Linked DNA regions of Homo sapiens: all the other regions are linked to region 3. Evidence: promoter capture Hi-C in human tissues and cell types (Jung and others, 2019). All regions are on one chromosome and are shown on one strand. Each heading gives the region's core, a stretch centred on a gene start or on the middle of the fragment in contact. The rest is flanking DNA. Distances are from core to core; before and after follow the strand shown. Region 1 overlaps CDH19 (cadherin 19). Region 2 has its middle 86 kb from the start of CDH19. Region 3 holds the start of CDH19 (cadherin 19).

What was found. Contacts are between HindIII fragments. The study calls those that stand out against the background at their distance.
Region 1: a fragment that was not itself captured here is called in contact with the fragment with the promoter of CDH19 in region 3 in 2 of the 25 tissues and cell types used here (dorsolateral prefrontal cortex and hippocampus).
Region 2: a fragment that was not itself captured here is called in contact with the fragment with the promoter of CDH19 in region 3 in 2 of the 25 tissues and cell types used here (H1 embryonic stem cells and hippocampus).

Annotation. Positions count from the first base shown.
Region 1 is chr18:66,530,761-66,535,022 of GRCh38, reverse strand. CDH19 (cadherin 19) reads left to right here. Exons shown (of 12, transcript NM_021153.4): 8 at 1-37. Among named protein-coding and RNA genes, the nearest start is that of CDH19, 71 kb to the left of the region's middle. The HindIII fragment of the contact is 3,231 bases long and covers 694-3,924 here.
Region 2 is chr18:66,688,135-66,692,453 of GRCh38, reverse strand. No RefSeq gene overlaps it. Among named protein-coding and RNA genes, the nearest start is that of CDH19, 86 kb to the right of the region's middle. The HindIII fragment of the contact is 3,473 bases long and covers 998-4,319 here.
Region 3 is chr18:66,601,802-66,605,901 of GRCh38, reverse strand. CDH19 (cadherin 19) reads left to right here and starts at 1,812. Exons shown (of 12, transcript NM_021153.4): 1 at 1,812-1,948. The HindIII fragment of the contact is 13,282 bases long and covers 1-4,100 here.

The DNA of each region.
Region 1 (4,262 bases), core at 1,060-3,559, 71 kb after region 3:
GCTTGGTACAACCTAAGTATTACAGCCACAGAAAAATGTAAGTACTCATTTGAAATCCAATACAGTTGTTTGCCATATTTTGTAAATAATTACAAATTTCTATACATGGGGACAAGGCTACTTTAAAATGTTGTTGGAATTATTTAAATGACATTCAATGTAAATGTGTGTACTTGCGTATTTTATTAGTTTTTATTTATATGCTTACCACTAAATACCTTCTAAACTATTTTCTAATTATAACAGTAAATAATTTTCCATACAAGAATAAATTGAGGAAACAACAAAATACAAATGAAATTCACCTGAAATTCTGCTTGTTTATTTAGGTGGATGATTTCGTTTTCGGGTTGTAAATTTTTCTGATTTACCACTTGGATATTGTCCTTAAAATCATGAATCCATTATTCATACAATTATATTTATTAAAGCTTAAAGAAATAAATATAACACAATATAAAATATCGAAGTCATTTCCATTACTTAGTCAATAGATTTAGAATTGTAAAGTATTAAAATTACAAATATAAAATATTCTCAGATGCATCTTTTCTTATAGCTGATTTTACATAGAATTTTAATAATCCTGTTTCCTTTCTTCACTCTTTGTTGAGGCAGGGAGCAGATATCTCTCTTTTCCTTACTTTATCAGGCAGATGGCAGGTGATATGGTGGAGTGGAAGGCATCTCCGCATATTATTTGCGATACAATGAACAGTTCTATGGAAACACTGTAGGAGAGCTTGAATCTGGGTTTTCAAGGTTCCATTTAACTAAACCATAAAAGGAGGCAAATGTTACAATGGAATAAATGCCCGCTGTAACAGAGGAAATGTCAAGGCTTCTCGTGTCAGAAAATGCAAAGATGTTTATTTTAAATGCAGCTTTTATTCATTGTGTATTTCTGAGAACAATTTTTTTTTTTCATTTTAAGGAAAAACTTGTTGGAACAAGCTTTTATAACACTGGATAACAAATTTTCATTTTTTTTCTTTCTCTAACATTTTAAAAAATTCTACATCATTAAGCCCATTTTAGATCTATTTGGGGAAAATATGTGTAACTGCCATTTTTTTACTACTGTGAAATCAATATTGAACCAAAAATAATTAGGCTTGACCATTTAAGCTTCAATAGCAATATAAACAAACCACCTACTGGTGGAAAACAGGGCATTACATAAAACTGTTTTAAAAATCATCTAGCTGCATTTGCTAACTACCTTGAAAAGCTTTCACCATAGCAATTATACTGATTATAGGAAAGAGATGTTCCATTTAAAAATTTTTTTTTTCCAGCAAATGAAGTTCGTTGTGCTTAGTCTCTTTTCTGGAAAGCTTCCCAAATTAAGCACAATGCTATTTATCAGTATGCTAGCTAAGTGAATAAAACTACTATTTTAAGGTGAAGCTGTGAAGTTTTATATACATTTTGTGCAGTAATACCAAAGGTTTAATTTAACTTAATTTCAAGCAAAGTTTAGGAACACAAAGATAAAAACATTATGAATTTCTTATTAATTTTCTGTCAGTTTATTCACAACTGAATTACATTATACAATTTAATTATTTAAGCAAAAAGATATTCTGTGATGATGTATGCGCTGAAACCATAACAAATACGAACCTAAATTTTCTGGTTAATTTCTTCTTGAAATCTTTAGAAATACCTTTTCATTTTTAAATGTTCCATTAATTTATTTTCATCCTAAATGTCACACAATGGAGAAAAGTCTCAAAATGATAAATACTAATAGTTGCTGTATTTCTTAAAGGCCATGGATGTGTGTGTGTGTGTGTGTGTGTGTGTAATAAATCCTAGAAATTTTAATTTTTAGTTAATTGAAAATTACAATTTCTATCTTAATTGTAACTGTTATTGTTGGGAAAATTCAATTTTAAGCAAAATCTCATCCCAGCCCAGAAAACCTCCCCTCAAAGGTAGAACAGAGAGAAAAATTTTATTACTGGAAAGCATTAAAACACAATGTGATCTGCATCATAGGAAATCTAAGAGATTGCCAAAATGGAAAGAAATCTCACCTTTTTATGTGGTCAAGCAGGTGCAATCCAATATATACATGTTCTCAAGTTAAATATTATCTAGATATTCAAGTATGAGGACTTAGCACTATTTGTCACATAGAATTCATTCTATATTCACTGGGTAGTTGGAGTGACCGCCTGTATTTGCTAAGTGGTTTTATCCAAAGGACAACTTAACTTTTCATGTCTTTATGACAAGAGGTAGTTCTACAACTTAGAACAAGATCGTTGCTAAAATGAGTCTCCTATCCTTCCCCACATCTAGGATATAGGGATGCTGTATTCCTTGAAGATTACATTTCAAAGAGATGGTCACCATTACTTGATAAATACAATCCTGGATCCTAAAGCTTCCAAGAAACTTGTTGAACTTTTGAAAGATTTCCATACGCTTCAAAGGGACAAAGAAAAAACTTACATACAAAGCTTTTTTTTTCCCTCTCTCTCTCTCTTTCTCTGTGTGTGTGTGTGTGTGTGTGTGTGTGTGTATGAATGCTCTGAGAAAAGGAAGGAAAGAAAAAATATTTTCCCTTGCTTTCAACAAGTACAAGGCCTCTAATTTTTAATTTGTTTTGTTCTTTCAAATTATCATTGCAAATAGTACATATATTTTAAATAAAAACACTAAAACAAACTAAAGAATCCCACTCCTATACCCTTTAATTGTATGCACCTTTCCTATAGCTTTCTTTTTTTTTTATGAAAAAGAGAGGCCCTGTATGATGACTTAAGCCTGTAATTCCAGCACTTTAGGAGGCCAAGGTGGGTGGATAACCTGGGGTCAGGAGTTTGTGATCACCGTTGCCAACATGGCAAAAGCCTGTCTCTACTAAAAATACGAAAATTAGCCAGTCCTGGTGGCATGTGCCTGTAGTTTCAGCTACTAGGGAGGCTGAGGCAGGAGAATCGCTTGAGCCTAGGAGGTGGAGGTTGCAGTGAGCTGGGATCCTGCCACTGCACTACAGCCTGAGAGAGAGAAAGATTAAAAACAATAAACCTACACAATATAATAGCTGCAACTTACTTTTTTCAGTTCACAAAATACATGTCTGGTTAGTAGATGCAACAAAACAATAATATTTAACATTCATTGTTCAGTTATGTACTAAGTACTCTTAATTGCCTTATGTATATTAACCAATTTGTGTAATTGCTTCATGTAATTTATGCAATTGCTTTATGTATATGTTTAATCTTAACAACAACCCTATAAGGCAGGTACTACTATCACACCCATTTTTCAGAATGCCAACTGAGGCATTCTGGTTAAGTATTTTTCTCAAATTGAGAAACAAGATTCAAACTCAAGTCATCCAGTTTTAGAGCTCACAATAAAAATGTGTTACATTGACTCTTTTATCTGAGTCAGGGTTTCACTCTGTAGCCCAGGCTGGAGTGCAGTAGCCCGATCACAGCTCACTGCTGCCACAACCTCCTGCTCAAGCGATTCTCCCACCTCAGCCTCCCAAGTAGCTGAGACTACAATGTACACTACTACACTCAGCTAATTTTTTTGGATTTTTAGTAGAGATGAGGTCTCACTATATTGCTCAGGCTGCTCTCAAACTCCTGAGTTCAAGTTATCCTCCTGCCTTGGCCTTCCAAAGCGCTGGGATTTAGAGGTGTGAGTTACCATGCTTGGCCAGACTCACAAATTTTTAATAAATCCACATAATATCATAGTTCAGTTGTAATTTATTCTCCCCAATTCTTTTTTGTTGTACATTTGAGTCGTTTATATAATTTGGATGTAATGCAAATAACTCTGGAATGTATTTAATCGGATCATTTACTCAAATACTGATACCTTAGACTGTAGCTTAAGTTTAACAGATTGGGTCACAGATATGTGTAGTTTAAATTTCATTATCCATTGCTAGAGTCGGTTTACATTGTTATTTTTCAGCACTCAGCTATCACTGGGTGCTGTTCTATCGCATATGACAAAAATGGCATGGGCTAAACCATCATTCTTCTTACCTGTGGTGAGAGGCTGTGTGAACATTATGATAACGCGGCGTGTCTCCACTACAGGCCATTTGGCTCCACACTTCTGCCCCCAATTTCAACCAGGGCACATTGACAATGTCTGAATACAGTTTGGATTGACACACTGGGATGGGAGGGATGCTGCAGACATTCGGGGAATAGAAGTCAGGGATGCCACTAAGCATCCTACAATGCACAGGAGAATCTCCCAAAACTAAGAATTATCCA
Region 2 (4,319 bases), core at 1,485-3,984, 86 kb before region 3:
ATAGAAATATGGACTATGATAAAGAGGAGTGAACTAAAATTTCTAAGAAAAAAATGCTTATTTAATATAAGGATAAGGATGATGACCAATCGTAACTGCTTCCTGCTGACAAAGGGTGCTCTTTTGGGAACGGCAGTCAGATATCCCTCAGAGGCCTATCTAAGGGTCCCTGATAAAACGTGGCCATTACTTGAGGCTCTGGTTGCATGACCATTTGGAATTTGATAGCCTGAAGGCAAGAAGAGCCAAACCAGATTATTAGAAGACATGTGTTAAAAAGAAACAAAAGGAGGGTGGGGTAAGGACAGCCCCAAAATCCCAGGGCTATGGGCATGCTTAGATAACTTGTGGCTATAGTTACGCTTGCTAAGATTTGGGCACATGGGGCTTGGCTTTGATTAGCTCCCTTGGTTTTATTTTCCCAAAAAAGAAACCTCTGGGTTATGGGCACCCTATTTACTCCCATCACCTGGCAGGATTTGCAGGATAATTGCCCAGAACTAGAATACTAATCCAGATTTTTGCAGTACGCATCCCTTTTGTATCTTCTGAGCTGTAGCTGGAAATCACTGGTTGGTTTATAGGAATAAGCAGGGTTATGCCAAAATGTAGGCAAAAAACTTAAAAACAACTAATGGGGCTATAATTTAATGACAAATATGATAAGCTTTGAAACATAATTTATCTCTCTCCAGTCCTCATTTTTGTTAAAAGCAAATCATGATAGGACTGAGTTGTTTGCAAAATAAATGGTCTTCTATTAGGCCTGATTATTCACCTAAAGTACAGCAAGAATAATTATTTTTACAAAGGCTTTTAAAATTGGCTTTGATGGAACTCTGTTCCACAAGGAATCTCAGATAGGACTTTTTAAAGCCAAACACAGGCATGGGTTTGTACCCTCAAATATCTGTGAGTTGCGTGAATTCCTCTCTTCTTCAGGTCCCAAGAATATGGGGTTCCTGGACCTGTTAGAAAGTGACATTCTTTACTCATCACAGGTTAGGGAACTTGTAAAGGGATTGTGTGGACAAAGTATGAGGCCAGTTTTCCCAAGGGGTTTTTATCAGCTATGCAAGTCGAGACTGATTCCTGAAAGGGAAGCTACTCTTCTATTCGAAGCCTTGGATCTCTAATTGCTTCCTGTTGCAAAAGAAAATGTATTCTTATTGCACTGATGCAAATAGCCATATTTCCATAAGTCGAGAATACTAACAGATAGTTTCCAAATTCTAGAGGAATCAGGCAGAGAGAAACAAACATGCTTCAGTTCACAGGAATATACCTTACTCAATTATTAAAGACTATAAGTGGCTAAAAATAAAAGCTTCCTTGACTCTAAAAAACAAAACACGGATCAGCAATATTTCAAGCAAAACATTTAAAAAAAAAGATTACTTGAGTTTTCTATTACTTCAGTCCATTCCATTAACTCTTGTTTTGCTTGATATTCATTAACATTTCATCTCTTCATGAGTCCTGTATGTTTTAATTTTATTCCAACCTCACAATCCTCAAAATTATCAGAAATCCACATTGAGAACACCTGTCAAAGTTCTATAGCTGATTATAAACCATCTTTTGAAGAGGATCAAAACAAGACACGAATTGTCCCCAAATGACAAAATGTCCAGGGTAGTTACAGTTAAAAACACAATTGACAAATAATTTTGTTTATCTCCATGGTTTACAATACTTTAACATAACCTTAATTATGATTGACAGCATATACTCAGACATTAGAATTTCTAGAAATCCCATGCAATTTTGGAACATATATTAATATTATTCCTTAAAATATAACATGAAGAAGATTAAACATCATTTTGGCAATCCCACATATCTAAACATGTCTAATAATACAGTTTAACTCCTTCTGGATGCTCCAGGGGCCCCGTGTAGCATCCAAAAGATAGGGTCCAGGAAAGACAATTTTGAAACTGAAGTTTGATTTTGAGAAGCCTGTTAAATATGTTAGAGCTTTAAACACTTGACATTATGAGATACAATTACAGATTACCATAAGTTATTTATTTTGTCAAAATGATGACTCAAAAATTTTTAAAAAGGCAAAAATCTTTACTCATTAAGAGGGAGGAATTTGTCTCCTGTCTTCTCTTTATTTTCCTTGGCAGTCTATCTGCAGGGCAAATGGTAATCTTTCATTACCCTTCACTATTACATGAAAATCTTGTACAAGAGAGAGAAAGCCAAATGTTATCCTTATATTAGTTTACTATTAATATCAACCCCAATTTTCAAATGAAAACTTACAGACAATTCTATCCAATCTTAACCATTTTGACCATGAAGTAAGAGTCTTGTAAACCTTTTATAACCCTTGACAAATTTTGCTAAAAAGCAGAATTGTGCCTTAAGGGAATAGTCCTGTGCTTTTATTCCAATGCTCAATTTATAGAAAAATCATATATTATACTCTTTTGAATTTAATGAATGTTCACACACAGAATTCTTTTGCATGATTGATTTTTAGAAACTTTCTACAACTTGTTTAAACCTTTAGCTTTATTTTATCTAATTTAAAACAATATTTTACCACTAGGCAAAAATTTACATTTCCATGCCTTCTTATATCTTTTTACTAAAAACACAGTTTACTGTCCTTACCTACCTTGCATGTAAATCTGTTTTCAGTGGACTCAATTACATGTTTTAATGGTAACTTTCAGCAATTTTTAACTTTAATGTAAAATCTGGTAAGTTGTTTCAATTATGCACTAGGCACTGATAAAGTTTAACACCTTCCACCATAGTGAAGGGTGTCGTTAATTCCAGTATGTCCCCAGGTCTTACCAAGTTGTAAAGCAAGCAAGTTGAACAGTTTTCAAAGGCCAAAGAAGCAATTTACAACCTTAAAACATTTAGCAAACCTAGTATCTGACTTGCATAATTTAGACCATCTATTTACATTTTAATGGCATCTGCATTTTACCAATAATCTTTAAGACTGTTTTTATTTTTCAAATATTATGGTCACATGAACTTAAAGCCATTAAAGCTTTTACTTTTCCTTCAAAAAAATTTAATCAATGTGCTTATTTTTCTTTAAGCCAATTAATTCAAGCTCTTTTTTATAGGTACACACAACACATATATGACTACATGGACAAACAGAAGAAGATCCAGTAGCTGTAAGATTTTTCCTTTGCCAATCTCCTAATTGGATTATTGGCCTCCAGGTGGGACCCTTTAAGAGCAGGGCTAGGAAAGCATGCAGTTTCTAGGGCCTAATAAACAGGTATAGCTGTAAGACAAAAACAGCTTTTGCGAAGGACCTCTTTGCCTCTAATTCCTGGGGTTGCACAAGAAAAACAGAGATTTCACCCATATGGAATCCATGGAGCCTTTTCTGTTTTTCCCAAGGAGCCCCAGGCCATCAGAAATTATCTTTAAGCCTCACATGCATGCATTAATAGTGACAATACTAGGTGGAGAAAAGTAATTCAGTTGACTGAGAAAAAACCTTTTTCAGAAAAAAAAAAAGATCCAAGAAGAGAAAAACACAAAGGCCTTTTAAATATAGATATAACTTGGATATCCACTTTTAATAAGCTGGACACTGTTTAAGAAATTCCTTTTAAATCCCTTATTACCTGACTTTAGTCATTCCAAGCATTCAATATTGCTGGCTTTGAACTTTATCAAACATGACCTAGCAGGTGAACCCAACAAGCCTCAATTAAGAGACACAAAGCACACCAGATTGGCTAAAGCTTAATACCAAACTCATAGATTATTTTTCATTAATCAGAATTTTAGGGCCAGGTGTGATGGTTCATGCCTGTAATCTCAGCACTTTGGGATGCCAAGGCGGGTGGATCACTTGAGGTCAGGAGTTCAAGACCAGCCTGGCCAACAAGGTGAAACGCCATCTCTACTAAAAATACAAAAATTAGCAGAGGTGGTGGCATGCACCTGTAATTCCAGCTACTCAGGAGGCTGAGGCAGGAGAATTGCTTGAACCAAGGAAGTGGAGGTTTCACTATACTCCAACCTGGGTGACAGACTAAGACTTCATCTCAAAAAATATATATTATATATATATATATATATTTACAGATAAAATAAACAATTATCTTTATCATTCCTTTTACTGCTTTGCATAAGGAGAGGGAGGTCCAAAGTCCAACTGGTAACAAAAACTTTTACCCTTTTTCCAGCATGTCAAGCTTCTGGGTTCCCTTACACTGATCTCATTTCTAAGCCAACCAGTTTAAGGTTTGGGAAATTAACTTTTCTCAGTTTGGAAAATGCATCTAAGGGAAGTATCCTGTAGTTTGGGCACACAATTACCCATA
Region 3 (4,100 bases), core at 563-3,062:
TCAAAAAAAAAAAAAAAAAAAAAGAAGTAATCACTAAGCTTATCTGATGACCAGTCCCCTAAGTACTTCCAAGTCTTCATTCTTGGTTGTGGCATAGCGGATGAATCTTGCTGGATCCTTGGCTATCGGCTGTTCATCTTATATCCTCTTCCAGAAAGGGCATGCATTTCTTAAGCAATTTACAGCAACTAGTTCCTGTACGTGTTTGATAATAGATTATCTATTTAATAAAATCAGTTTGCTGTTAATGATATTCTACATAAAACATGTAGTTTCACACTGTACCTTCTTTAGAAAATTTAATCCTGTCTCACTGTGGTTTCTATAGTTGCCATTGCTCTTTATTGGTACTGTAATAATCAGGGCAGCAAATTGTGACCCACCTTTGCTCCCTTAGGCTCTAAAATAAGCCTTTGGGACATCATGTTTACAGGTACACTGAGGCTCTAAACTGTGGTTTCAATCCTAAGTGCAACTGGATATTTTATAAACATCAAGATATAAATTGGCATCTCATAAAATGTTAGATTCTTACAGAAATCCTAGACTAGGTCATAGACAGAACAGTGAATTATGTAAATAAATATTTTAAACAGGTATCTCCACCTTTTTTGATACTGTAAAAAATATGAAGGGGGAAATGTATAAGAATACTTCAGAGGTTCTTTGTAAAATTTATTTTTTCCCTATTTACTAACATCTTGAAACACTTAGAAGTGTTTTTTTCTAGCTGAATGCTTTTTTCTACCTGAAAAAATAAAATATTTCCACATTATACTGTTCCTGCTATCCACAGATCTATTCTCCCAGGTTCATCTCTTCAAGATTTGTTCATAAATTATTGATTCCTCCTAATATTCACAACCTCATAGGATGTGCATTTGTGCGTGTGTGTGCATATGTATGTGTGTGCACATGTATGTGTATGCATGTGTGCACATGTGCATGTGTGTATATGTGTGTGCTTGAGTGTCCTACTTTACTGCCCATATAGCTTTTGCCATTTCTTTCCTCAAAAGCTAAGAGGATAGTGACCAAAATATCTATCAGAATTAACAGGATGCTTGAATAATCCTGCCCCACATAGACTTTCTTATTATATAGGTATAATTTAAGAAACTTTTAATATTTTAATGTTTCTCTAGTTTGGTTCAAAAATGGTTTTTAAGTAAATAACAGCTTGAGTAAACAGCATAGAAAATACATATGTATTTTATGTTAAATAATAATAGCTTATATCAAAATCTAATTATAACCATGAATAAAATAAAAGATTTTACATAATAATAAACCAAGGAAAAGAAAAGGACTTATTAAAGTTTAGACATTTCTCTCTCATTATGTCTTTACTTGATTTCTGAGGAGAAATGACCGAATTAAGAAACAGCCATGAGGCATAGACACACAGTGGAAAATCATTTCTCTTTTCAGTAAGTTTTGGGTCTGCTTTAAATTGATCATTTGTTTCATCAGCTAATCCCCAAACAGAGGGCACGTCCGCTCTACTTGCAAAATTCTTGTATGTAAGTTGAATTCTCCCTTTATCAACTCAGGCCAATAAGTACTTTATTTTGTTTTTGCTTGTTGTTAGGGGAAAAAAAAAAAAAACAAAGATAATCAGCTCATACTACTTGCGTAGCTGTCTGCATTTTAATTCCAGACTATGAACGAGCGTCAGAGTGCCCTTATGATATTTTGCACAAAAGGCTCAGTGTTTATGACTCTACTCAGAGAACCCAAAATAGCATTGAGTAAGCAGTGACATACTGACAGTGTTGTGGTACTAAAAGCACAAGCGTCTGTAACTCTGGGCAATGGGGCACATCGAGAGTTTGCTGAGAAGACTGTGAAGCAAAAAGAAGAAAGTTTTTCCTACTCTTCCTTATGTGTCCAACACGAAGTTTGCTGTTCAGTTTTCACAGAACTTCTAGAAGTTGAAGTTACAAAGGTAAGACTGTGATAATCAGGCATATTATAAACTACATGCATCATCTTTAATGAGTCAATAGGTCAAAAAGTACATGACAAAATGTTGCTAGGAAAATATTCTAAAAATATTAAGGAAAATATTTACATAGGAAATAAGGAAAATATTCTAAAAATTTTAAAACCATGATGTGTACTTGTACTGAACTTTCTCAAAACACGTATTTGTGAGAACAGTTCTCCATCTCTGTAATACAGATTGTTGGTGTTGGGGGGAAGTTACACCTATGTTAGGATATTTAAAACTTCTCAAGTTTCTTAGAATAAATGAATCAACCTTTCTTTGCATGTCTTTCTTTGCACTTTTTTCTTTGTTCAGGGTTTTATTTTTTATTTATCATGTATTTACCATGTATATCAGGTAATATGAACAATAGAGTTGTCATCATTAAGTATATGAGAAAAAATATATACAGAATAAATATGAAAAATTTTAAGTATATTATAATTCCAAAAAAATTAAAATATTAGCATTGCTATGAATAAAAACACATATATGCCTAAAATTGTACAGGCATATTAATTTACCTATATGTATTATAACATTTATACATAACACAAAAGGTAATTTCTCAAATATGAAAGTATAAATTAAGAAAAGTATAAATTAGGAAAATGCATACTGTAAAAGACATTTTATATTGTTTCAATTCTAATTTGGTACATGCAATTTTAATTGAATAACTAATTATAATAAAATATTTCAAAATAAGTTTACCAAAGGGATTTAATAAATCTATTAAATATAAAAACATAAAATATTTAGCAACAAAAAATACCTAAATAGAGTGGCAAAGGTTTTCTTTAGATTATGTCAATTTATATTTTAGCTCTATTAATTCATTTGTTGAATTAATATATCTGTAAGAAAGACATTATTTAGATAAAATATTTGAAAATTTAGTAATATATATTTATGTTTTAGATGTAGTTACAATATTAAGTAAAATTATATGCATTAATATATTCTTTTTTCAAATTCTTAATATTGTAATTATCAGCAGTATGCCTACTTACTATAATTTTTGATTTCAAAGAATTTAAATTTCAATGTAATGTGAACATTTATATTGACCAAATAAAATAACTAACAATTTATTTTTAAAAGGAATAAGCATTTCATTATTGTCTGCAATTATTCAAAATTTTTAAACAATCAATTTATGTCATTTAGAAACCACCAGATCTCCTTTCCTTTACATATGTTTTCCACTTTACCAAGCCTTTATAACAGTGAACGAAATGCTCATATCATTATATAAATATCTGATTTTTACAGTCTTACACATTAGTAAATTCTTTACTTAGGCTCCAGTGAAATATTTATAATTTTAGGCACACACAGACACATCTGCATATATCGAAAAGCATATGTCTTCTACTTATATTTTTTGTTTTGTTTTGTTTTTCACTTAGGAATGTTTGTAAGGTACATTTCCTCAAGAAACATAAAAAAATTTTTGATTAAATTATCATAAATTGAAGATGCTTTAAAATGATGTGCACAGATGCCTCCTATGCATTATTAAGAAACCAGATCCATCTTTCAGGAATTTCTCCTAATACAGCTACATATAATCTGATACATATCATCTATAACTAAATATCAACTGATCATTTTTGCCACTCATGATCTTAGCATGTACTCTTAAATATATGTTATGTTTAAAACATTACATAGCAGTATTCAGCATGTTAGTGAGTAGTAATGCATTAGGAATAAATGTGTTAAACTGTTTAAAAGGAGATATTGATCTTTCTATATACCTTCTTTACATGAGAATTTATTGCTCCTAACCAAGTGTTTGAGAACCATGCTGGTGAATAAGAAAAATTTGTTGTCACGACGATTTCCTTTAACATCGATGATCTTCTATCACCTGTATCTTTGCTTTGGTGAAACAGATTGAAGTTGAAACACAACTAAGTATGGAACGTAATAATAATCCCACAGGAATCCTTTCTATCAATGGTGAAGACAGCCCCTGATTGACAAAATGAGTGTCTTTGCAAAAGTGACTAGAAAGATGTTTGCCACTTTAAAATCAAATCAAAACAAAACAAGATAAACTGTACCCTTACAGCGTTTTTTTTTACCCACTCTCACCACCTTT